3 separate regions of the Homo sapiens genome follow, and regions 2 and 3 are each linked to region 1. Evidence: promoter capture Hi-C in 16 types of primary human blood cells and fetal thymus (Javierre and others, 2016). All regions are on one chromosome and are shown on one strand. Each heading gives the region's core, a stretch centred on a gene start or on the middle of the fragment in contact. The rest is flanking DNA. Distances are from core to core; before and after follow the strand shown.

The links. Contacts are between HindIII fragments. The CHiCAGO score rates a contact against its expected background, and 5 or more counts as called.
Region 2: a contact is called between the fragment with the promoter of NT5E here and the fragment with the promoter of TTK in region 1, in 1 of 17 cell types (total B cells). The highest score is 6.2, in total B cells.
Region 3: a fragment that was not itself captured here is called in contact with the fragment with the promoter of TTK in region 1 in 1 of 17 cell types (total B cells); the score reaches 6.4 in total B cells.

Annotation. Positions count from the first base shown.
Region 1 is chr6:80,003,247-80,006,403 of GRCh38, reverse strand. TTK (TTK protein kinase) reads right to left here and starts at 1,755. Exons shown (of 22, transcript NM_003318.5): 1 at 1,691-1,755; 2 at 422-562. The coding sequence starts at 560. RefSeq lists enhancers at 2,154-2,273, 1,844-2,718. The HindIII fragment of the contact is 2,460 bases long and covers 453-2,912 here.
Region 2 is chr6:85,448,294-85,451,511 of GRCh38, reverse strand. It overlaps NT5E (5'-nucleotidase ecto), which reads right to left and starts at 1,429. Exons shown (of 9, transcript NM_002526.4): 1 at 1,034-1,429. The coding sequence starts at 1,372. RefSeq lists a silencer at 1,367-1,636. The HindIII fragment of the contact is 6,289 bases long and covers 1-3,218 here.
Region 3 is chr6:85,606,884-85,610,359 of GRCh38, reverse strand. It overlaps a transcript of SYNCRIP not described here. Among named protein-coding and RNA genes, the nearest start is that of SNX14, 15 kb to the right of the region's middle. The HindIII fragment of the contact is 815 bases long and covers 1,687-2,501 here.

The DNA.
Region 1 (3,157 bases), core at 506-3,005:
CATGATTAGATCACAGGTTCTTCCATTTATTTTCAATTCCTCATCTATTTAAAGGTTAGTATAGATGTAAGAAAATTATCCAAAGGTCACCATTCAAATGACCAACCATTTGAAATACAGTAAAGAATCAGGCTTCTGAGCTAATACTTTTAGAAGAGCTAGAGTATTAAACTCTGGGCATTTTCACCCATTAATCATTGTTCAATAAATGTTTAAGTGCCTACCTACCATGTGCCAGACACCATTCAAAGTTCTGTGGATATAACAGACAAAAACCCTGCCATCATGTAGCCTGCATTCTAATGGAGGAGAAAGACAATAAACACATGAGTAAATTATAAATAAAGTGATTAGTACTATATCTTTACCTTAGAGGATACCCAACAAACAGTTACTAACTTAAAAGAAAAGAAAAACTCACCTGTAGTATCAGCAGAAATTTTATTCAAGCTTAGTTCATCAGTAAGGTCTTCATTTTTAAACTTATTTTTAATGTCTCTCACTTTGTTCATTATGGAATCAATTGTCAATTCTCTGCCACTTAAATCCTCGGATTCCATTTCTAAGAAAAAAACTGAACAGTCATAACTCCTACTTTAACTAGCATCAAAGAAAAAAATGCACTAGCTTTTTAGAACCCAGACGACTAAAGCATTCGTTTTGTGAACACATCTAAATGCAGCTATTATTAGGCTAGTATTAATGGAGGTAAGTGCACAACAACAAGGTACACATCTTTGTAATTTATTCACCAAGGTTTCATAGGCCAAGTATACTTTTTCCCCCAATATAACATCAATGACGTCACACTGTAGAAATCTGCAAATTTAGTGTCACTTAAAAAAAATATGATAGAGTGTTTGCTTGGATTTTGGTAGCGACATACACATAAAGATTGCTTGGATTCTGGTAGTGACATAGACATAAAGAATTCGTTTGGCAATGGGAATAACAATTCCTTTATTCGCCTGCTTTACTTGAGTAAATCTTCCAGTGCAAGTGCTTTCAAAGCAGAATATAAACATGATGGGGCTTTACTGATAATTAGGAAATCCGCAGATTTATTCTTGTGCATATCTAGCAGAATCACGATTTGCTACCTTAATCTAACACTAAGAAACTATTGTACTGGTACTGAGCACTTGCTTATCTGCATGGTGGTGGTGTTTGTTCAATAAAGTGTCTGCAGTCTTATTGTTAATCGTATCTTTGTGACTCTCAAACACCAACTCAGTGTCACTGATAACAATGCTGCCCCGTCTTCAGGTTTAACAATGAAAAAAAGTCATAAAGTTGCAGCAAGGTATCACTCCACCTCTTAAGTCAGGTTTGAAAGATAACTGTCAGATCACGGCCACCCGCTTCTTTCCCAGTTCTAACCCCCAAAACAAGAGAGACTGTCCTTTGGAAAACGATCTTGTGCGCAGGTACCCCACCACCCCTTCTTTCCAGCGTGGGCCACACCCACTTCTTACTTCCTCAACAAAACCTCCTGCATCACCCCACCGGCCAGACCCGCTGAGGCAGTGAGACATCCCCTCCCCCTCCAGCTCGTTTAGCCGCGTCGCATACCTGGCTCCGAGCTGCCCCCACCTCGCCCCACCCCTCACCGACCAGCGCTAACAATGAGCCCCTACACCGGCTGCGGCTGTTCCTCAGTGCGCCGGTGCACCGGTAAGACAGAACTTACCTACAGAAAGCTGCGCTGGGGAAATGAAAAGATGGAACCCAAACTCCTTTCCGCAAACACGTTTGAATTTCCCCGTCGCTATCACTACGGTCTCCTATTGGTCAATGCTAGCCACGTAGAAGCGACAGTCGTGATTGGTTCTTGTGCGACGGGGGCCGCCCCTCCTCCTGCGTCAGGCTAGGCCCGCCCCGGAAGAGCCTGCGGCCGCGACCCCACCCGTGCGGCGCCTGGGTTGGTAGGGTGCTGGCACTTTGCAGGCGTTCCCCGGACGCCCGTGGGCGGGCTTTCCTGGTCTTTCCAGTTTAACCAGGCCGAATTTTTGCCTGGGAGGTAGCCACTCCCGAGCAAACCTACCCAGTGAGAGGAATATAGGGGCAGGGACGGCTGCTCCTAGCATCAGGACCTAAAAGATGCACCTTGGGCCGGCCCTTTACTGACCCCACCGCCACCCTTCTCCTTCGTTTCCCGCGGTTCTCACAGCCTGGCTTAGAGAGGATGTGGCAAGAAAGGATCTTTCACTGAGCTACGTTCAGCCCTGCCGCCAGCTCAAGAATTTCAGTGCTTTTTATCCTTGAGCTTCTGCTTATGCCCTTCCATTATCCTTAAATGACTCCACGCTCTGTCTTCAAGCCAAGACCCTCCCCCTTGTCAAAATTCTGCGCAGAACTCAAGCGCCCATCGTGATTGCCCTGTCTGAAGTCGCCTTATCGGCCCCCCTCCCTCGAAGCCTGCCCCACTTAAGGGCTCAGGTGTCCTCAGGGGTAAAAACATCTCCCTAGTAATAATCTTCGCGGGTGCGAGGCTCTGCCGCTAAGTGGCTTTGTGGTCCAGGGCAACGGTTACTCCTCGTCTGCAAAACTAAAAGGGATGTGTCTGTTGTGCCAGCATTATGACATATATTCTGTGGTAGGACGGGTTGGTTTTGTGTATGTATAGGAAACTAACTGCAGCTGTCACTTGTTAACTCCAAAGCTATCCTTAGAACCCTCACATTCCCAGCTCTGGATAGCCACCCAGCTAGCGTGAGAGCCCTTCTCAATCACTTAATGCATCTTTCTGTGTCAGCTAGCTAGTATTTCTGCTTCAGCAGAGCAAAATGACTTGCTATACCATGGTTGGCTAATCACTTACCTTTGCACCATTGCATCTAATGCTTCTGCCTGGAAAGAGTTTATTATTCCTCCAATTCTCGTTGATCTGTTTGCGGCCTGATCACAAAGCTTGCATTTTCCTTAAAATACTGTTGCTGGATGACCTCACCCTAACACTTCTTTCTGTACTCTCGTTTGGTGGTCTCCTTCAGTCTTCTATTTTTAAATACCATCTATATGTTGATGGCTCCCAAATGTGTATCATTAGCTGAGCTCTCCTCAACTCCATACTCAGATATCCACTGCCTACTTATTAACATCTTCACTTACATGTCTCATACGCATCTTGAACTCAAAATGTCCAAAACCAAGCCCC
Region 2 (3,218 bases), core at 180-2,679, 5.4 Mb before region 1:
TTTTAACCACCATATATACATCTTGGTTGTACTTATTTATTACTGTGCAACCACCTCTGCTCCCTTTCTAGAATTTAGTGCAATAGAAAAGGCATTACCTTTAACCTAACATTTGGGACTTTGAACTAAACTTTTGCACATGTTTTAAGAGCCCATTATCTCTTAAGTTGGACTCTTCCTAAATCTCTGCCGCCAAACCTACTTTATTGAAATCCTTTGAAACCCAAGTCTTTCCACATTTTGGCTCTCTCTGAAGTTTCTTTCTTTCTTTCTCTTTCTTTCTTTCTTTCCTTTTCTTAACCCTATATTATAGTGTCTGGTAATAACAACATATATAGACACCACACTATGTGTCTGGTAATAATATAGAGACCACACTATGTGCACTATGTACAATTATAATCCTTATTTTTATACAGGATAGAACTGAGGCAAGAAAGAGTAAATAACTTGCTCAAGGTCACATAGAAGGTAATTGAACAGAGAATCTACCCCAAAGCTGTGAGCTTAATTACTCTCAAGCTCCGGGGTCAAAGAGATCTGGTGTCCATTCTTATCACGTCTCCCTTTTTGCGGGGATGGTGCCTGTTAATTTATTCAGCTTCTTCGACGCGGTTTCCCTTTCAATAAGATTGAGATAAAGCATTTTTCGAAAGATCTAGATTGAGATAAAGCATTCTTTGAAAGATCTAGCAGTAAATGAGAGCTGCGTGAGGGATCCGATTCAGTCCCTAGCTCTGGATAACTGTCAGTGCTTCTACGCACCCCACCTTAAGCCCCTCGCAGGCAGGACTGGGTCCTGCTCCTCTAAATACTCCCATCTCATAGTGGGGGCGCAATAACGTCCGTTTAAGACGAATCGTCCAAGGGACTTCTATGCATCCAGCTGGCACACTGGCCGGAGTCTCACTTTATCCCCACATCTCTCCGCGCCCTGGACCTAGGCTTGCCACACTCTGCCATCCGCTGCTTTTCCAGCCCGGCTCCTCTCTCAGTCCGGGACTACTATCCCGGGCGCGGGCTCGGGTCTTACCATGGCATCGTAGCGCAGGGCGTTCATGAAGTGCGCCACCTCGGCGCCCTTGTACACGGTGAACCAGATAGTGCCCTGGTACTGGTCGCCGGCGTCCAGCAGCAGCACGTTGGGTTCGGCGCGGCGGATCTGCTGAACCTTGGTGAAGAGCCGAGCCACGCCACCCATGCAGCGGCTGGCGTTGACGCACTTGCTGGAGTCCTCGCTGGTCTGCTCCAGCCGGCTGTGCACGTCGTTGGTGTGCAAAATCGTAAGCTCCCAGGCGCCAGCCGCAGGCCACAGCACCGCGCCCAGGGCGAGGAGTAGCGTCGCGGGCGCCCGCGCGGCTCGGGGACACATAGCTGTGGCGCGTGAACTGGGTGCGAAAGCGGGCGAGCCGGGCGAGTGCCGGCGAGTAGGGGCGAGCAGCTAGGGCCGGGGCTCGGTGCCCCGGCTGGAGGGGCGGGGCCCGGGTCAAGGCCGGGGCGGGTCCTTCTTCAGCCTGGAGGCCGGCTTGGCGGCCAGGCGCAAGTTCGCGACGTCACCCGATCCGACCCTGGTACCCGGAGCGGCCCTGGCGCGGCTGTCGGCTGGCACCAGCTCCCTGCAGGAAGAGTGGAGAGGTTGTTCCCGGCGGGGAGCGGGTACCGGCCGCATCCCGGCCGGACCAGGGAGCCTGGGCGCCGGCAGTTCGGCTGCTGGTGCGCCGCTCTTTCGGGGGCGCGAGGAAGGAATTGGAGGGGTCCGCCCCGCGCCTGGGTCCTCTCTGAGTCTCGCCTCATTCGAGGCACGGGTTTTTCTACAAAAGGAATGTATGGTTTGTGGTTGCGCTAGCTCATCACTTCAAAGAACCAAAGAAGGAAAAGAGAGGGGGCGGGAAGAAAGATGAGCGAGCTGAGGGGCAGAGAGGAGGAGTAAAGAGAGGCCGGGCAGAGGAGCTCCTTGCAGTTTCGGGCTGTGAGAGCCGAAGCTCACTGAGATGTGACGCTTCCTGTTGGGTTGAGAACGCACGAAGTCTACGATGCTTAGACAAAAAAATCTCAGAAACTAAGAAATCATTCGAATCCAGTTCCTTGTTTATTCACAATTAAAACCTTAGTGATAAAACAGAGGCGACGCGCGGACAGCTCCTGGAAGCAGAAACACGATTGGGGTAAAATCCGGCAGCTATCAGGACGGGAAGGGATGCTGCCCTTCTTTGCTTTTCTGGTCTTATTTTATTTTATTTTATTTTTATTTTGTCGCGTGTGCTTTCGGTGTCGCAGTGAAGTCATAGCCAAATACAATGTTAGGAAGATTTTCCTCTATGTTTTCTCCTAAGAGTTTTATAATTTAAACTCTTAGACCTTTAATCCATTTTGAGTTAATTTTCATATGTGGTATGAGTCCACATTTACTCTTTTTCATGTGGATATCCAGTTTTCTTAGTACCATTTGTTGAAAAGACATTCTGTGCCCGTTTTTAAGACATTGACCTGAGGTTCGGAGATTGTAAATCATTTGCCAAGAAAGGCCATGCAGTTTGGGAGCAGCAGTGCCTGGGGCTACAGAAGACCCTTGCTTCTGGGACACCCTCTAATGTCATGCTTTGCAAGGTTTTGCTCTGTCCCTCTTTGAGCACCTGCTAGAAGCAGGTAAAAGAACTGGTAGTTTTGCTGTTTTAACTTAAAAAAAGAATGATTTTAGACTTACAGAAAAGTTGCAAAGGTAATAAAGGGAGTTCCCACATACCCATCACCCATATTGCCTTATGTTAACAGCTTATATAACCAATGAAACTAAAAACTTAACAGTGATACGAAACTATTAACTGTGTTACTGATTTTATTTTAATTTCACCAACTGTTCCACTAATGTCCGTTTTCTATTCCAGGACCCAATTCAGGATACCATATTGCAGTTAGTTTTCCTGTGTTCTTAGCCTCCTCTAATCTGTGACAGTTTCTCAGTCAGTTGTCTTCAAAAACCTTGACACTTTTGAACAGTACTGGTTTCTGTATACTATCCCTCAGTTTGGGTTTGTCTGATGTTTTCTCATGATTGGACTGAAGCTGTGGATGTTTAGGAAGAATGCTACAGAGATTATGTGCCTTTCTCATTGCCTGGTATCTGTGGGTACACGGTATCAACATGACCTATCACTGATCACTGGGGAACTGATCATTTGTTGTTTCTTGTCTTTTAAACCTAAGCCACTGCAATAGTT
Region 3 (3,476 bases), core at 845-3,344, 5.6 Mb before region 1:
TGAAATTACTTGACAGTGTTCATTTGAATGACTTTGAATTCAAGCCATTATAATTACTTTTAAAATTAAATATCATTTGCACTGTTCTGATAATGGGTGCAGTTTTTGAGCAATATAATCAGAGCTAAATATGCATGTAGTGATTAGTGATGTGAACAATTAACGTTCTGAGAAGAAATACTAACTGTGGTATTTTCAAACTTAAATTTCTGTAGTAAAATCAGTATCAAAGTCTTATCAGATCAAGGAAAAACAGGCAATGCATATAAACATACTTTTGAATGTTGTGTGGCCTATAAAGCAATAATGCAATTTATATGGAATGTCATGGGATATGAGAAATGGAAATGCAAAAATAACTAATCCTTTAGTAAAAATGTCAACATGTTAAAGGGGGAATGTTAACTAATGTAGGTTATTGCTATTTGTGATTTGTTTATGGGTTCTTGGCTTTGACAGCTTCAAAGAATGGACAGTGATAAGTTAAAAGAAATTTTGTATATTGTCAAGGAAAGGGTCTTAAATCCGAGTCAAGTCCCTTCCTTGGGGTAAAAAATGTATTCTTAAAGCATTCTGATGTTAAAAAGAAAACTTAAGTTATCTAACCAAAACAGACGCAAGATTTTGTTTCTGCAGACTACTTGGCAATCAAAAGTGATCATAAATTTAGGTTATCAGTTTTCAGAAAGTTGCTTTGTGAGAAAATTTTGTTAGATATATTCTCCCAAGCATGCTTTTTGTGGAAGGTTTTCAGCCATTGCCACTGAATCAGATGTTAAAAATGAAGGGAAAATTGAGTGTGCACACACACAACTGTTGTACACTCATGATTGCAGTTTTTAGCTTAAGAAACTTTTCTACCAGTTACTGTGAATCTGACTTAAAATGTAAAGTTTCCTCATGATAAAATAGGAACAACATAGAAATGGATTGATGGGGTGATCTGAGTTATTGTATATAAAAGTTTTTAAAGAATAGAATGAACATCAAGCTAGATAGGCAAAAATTGACACATTCAGAACAGCTTTTTTGACTGCGAAGCCAAAAGTTGTCAGAAACAGCAAAAGATCCCTTATTATTACAGAGTATTTTACGTAGTCTCTATTTTAAGGAGAGAAATTAAATAGAAGGGCTTCATGCATTTAGGGGAGGGTGCTAAAACTTCTCAAGTTCGTCAAACTTACAGGAATACCCACCATGATCATTTTCTCTCTAATTATGTATACCACAAAATTTTCATCTGGCCATAGGAATTCACTGGTGGGTGTAAAATTAATGACTAAAGAAATTAAGTGACAAATACATAAAAGAAACAGACTTGTGGGGATATTGTTTTAAGGTGTATTAATTACTCAGTGATGATACCACTCAATAGGGCATGCCACTACTTTTCTTAAGATGCTAATTATGAAGCAGTGCTCACAGGCATTTTTTAACTAGCAAATTAGTAGATGGACTTTTGGGGTCTGTCACTTTTTAAAAGTATTTAAGACTTAAATTCTATTAGCACCACAGTCTGCCTTCAGTAATACACCTAAAATATTTTTCAGGACCAGAAGCATTCAGTTTGAAAATTTGCAGATGCAAACCAGTATTATTACTAACGCTCTGGGTCAAAGATTAGGTTTTTAATATTAACAGTAGTCTGGTAAATATTTAGAAGTCTGGCATTGAGAAACAAAAGCTTGTACCTGACTAGTATTTTTATTTAAAAAAATTAGTTCTGTTAGCTTATTTAAATTGTGTTTTATTTATCCGTAGAATTTATATTTATTTCATTCCTTTCATCTCACTGAAAACTGTCTGCAGGCCCTTTGATTTGGATTAGATGTGTGAAGTACTGTCTTTTGCCAAAAACCTCAAATTACCTGTTCTTTTCAACGTAGTGGGTTTGTGCTTGTTTGGAGATCAGTTCAAAAACTATCTGTACTATCTGTACTGCCTCTGATGTTAAGATTTTATGTATAGCATAAGGAAGCTAGCTCTGACTATATTTTCCTAAGAATAAAGACCTATTTTTGTAGCATGTCTTAGGATCTCCAGGAGTCCAAGAATTATTGTGGGTGTCCTCCAATTCATCACTCTTCACTTAACAGCTTTTAAGTAGACACTTGGAATCTTTAGAGGTCTGTCGCCCTTTGATTATCCATACATTCGAAGTAACTAGCCAATGGTGAAAAATTCCTCAAGATATCCTCAGTTGCAATCACATTACTGGAAGATGAATAGAATAAATGTATTAGGCTGGTCTTAATTTTTGATGGAAATATTCTGTTGTCCCGTACTTGCCATTGGATTTGATAAAGTTAGTGGTAATTTGGAAAGAATCGGGGACTTGCCAATATATTTGTGGGTTTTAGCTTATACCCCTAGGATTTCTTGGTTGCGGGACGAGCAGTTTTGGCCACTTCCATCAGGACAAGACTTTTTAGGTCACTTAGTGCAGGTTTTAGTTTCTATTTTGGATTAACAACATTTATATTGATTATCGAAAAGAAGCTTTCATCATTTCAGAACAGTCCTGGAAGTTTGACTTTGAGTGTGGGAGAAGTCCTAATAAACCATTTTGGAAATTAGTGTCTCCAAGTGTTACAGCTTCCTAAAATGGGTTTCTAACACAGTGGGATCAAAATAAGGTTATTTTAGGATAATATACTGTAAACTTAATTGACTGTCTGATTTTCTACTTTGTCTATAAAGTGGCTTACAACAGGTTCTAATCTAGAAAGGAGTTATAAAGGTTATCTGTAATGTTTATGAATTGTCATTTCTTGCCTTCTTTTAGGCTTTCAGCTGTATTCTGAAAAGGAGATTGTTGTGACAAACTCAACTTGTTTTGGAGAGAATTTTAGGAAACCTAAGGGATTTGGCGTTTTATATCATTTTTGATGTGCAGTTTTTGAGTTTTCAGGGCAGAAGGGCAAAGTATTTGGTGTGGACAAGTTGTTACCACAGATTAAAGAATAAGACCAGGGCTTGCTGACAATAAGAAATTTGTTAAAGAGTTTTGTAGGTTCCATATGGTAAAATTAGGTCTTGTAATTATAGAAACACCATGATATACAAGAAGAGTTCCAGCATACCTGTTATGGCTCGTTAATAGTGTTAACTTTAAGTTGAAATGTGAATAACATGGCATTTGTGTTACATGAGTACTGCATCATTTAAACACAAATTTGCTAAAGCTAGGTGCATCTGTATACTAAAACCCTTATGACATCATTTTTAAGAGAATATCTTTAATATGTCAGTATTTATGTTAATTGGTTGCTTTAATTGGAAGACTCAGGAATTAGGCCTCCAGTTGCTTTTAGTTTAACACGTCATGAAAAATTAGAAAAGCATATGTACAAATTGTATTTCTCAGTTTTATTTAATATTTGGAATATACTTAGAGGAAAACCAGAAATAAACAATGTTAAAGGTCATCTATAAAAATGGCAGAATACACTTTTCATTTCCACTCTAGAGCCACA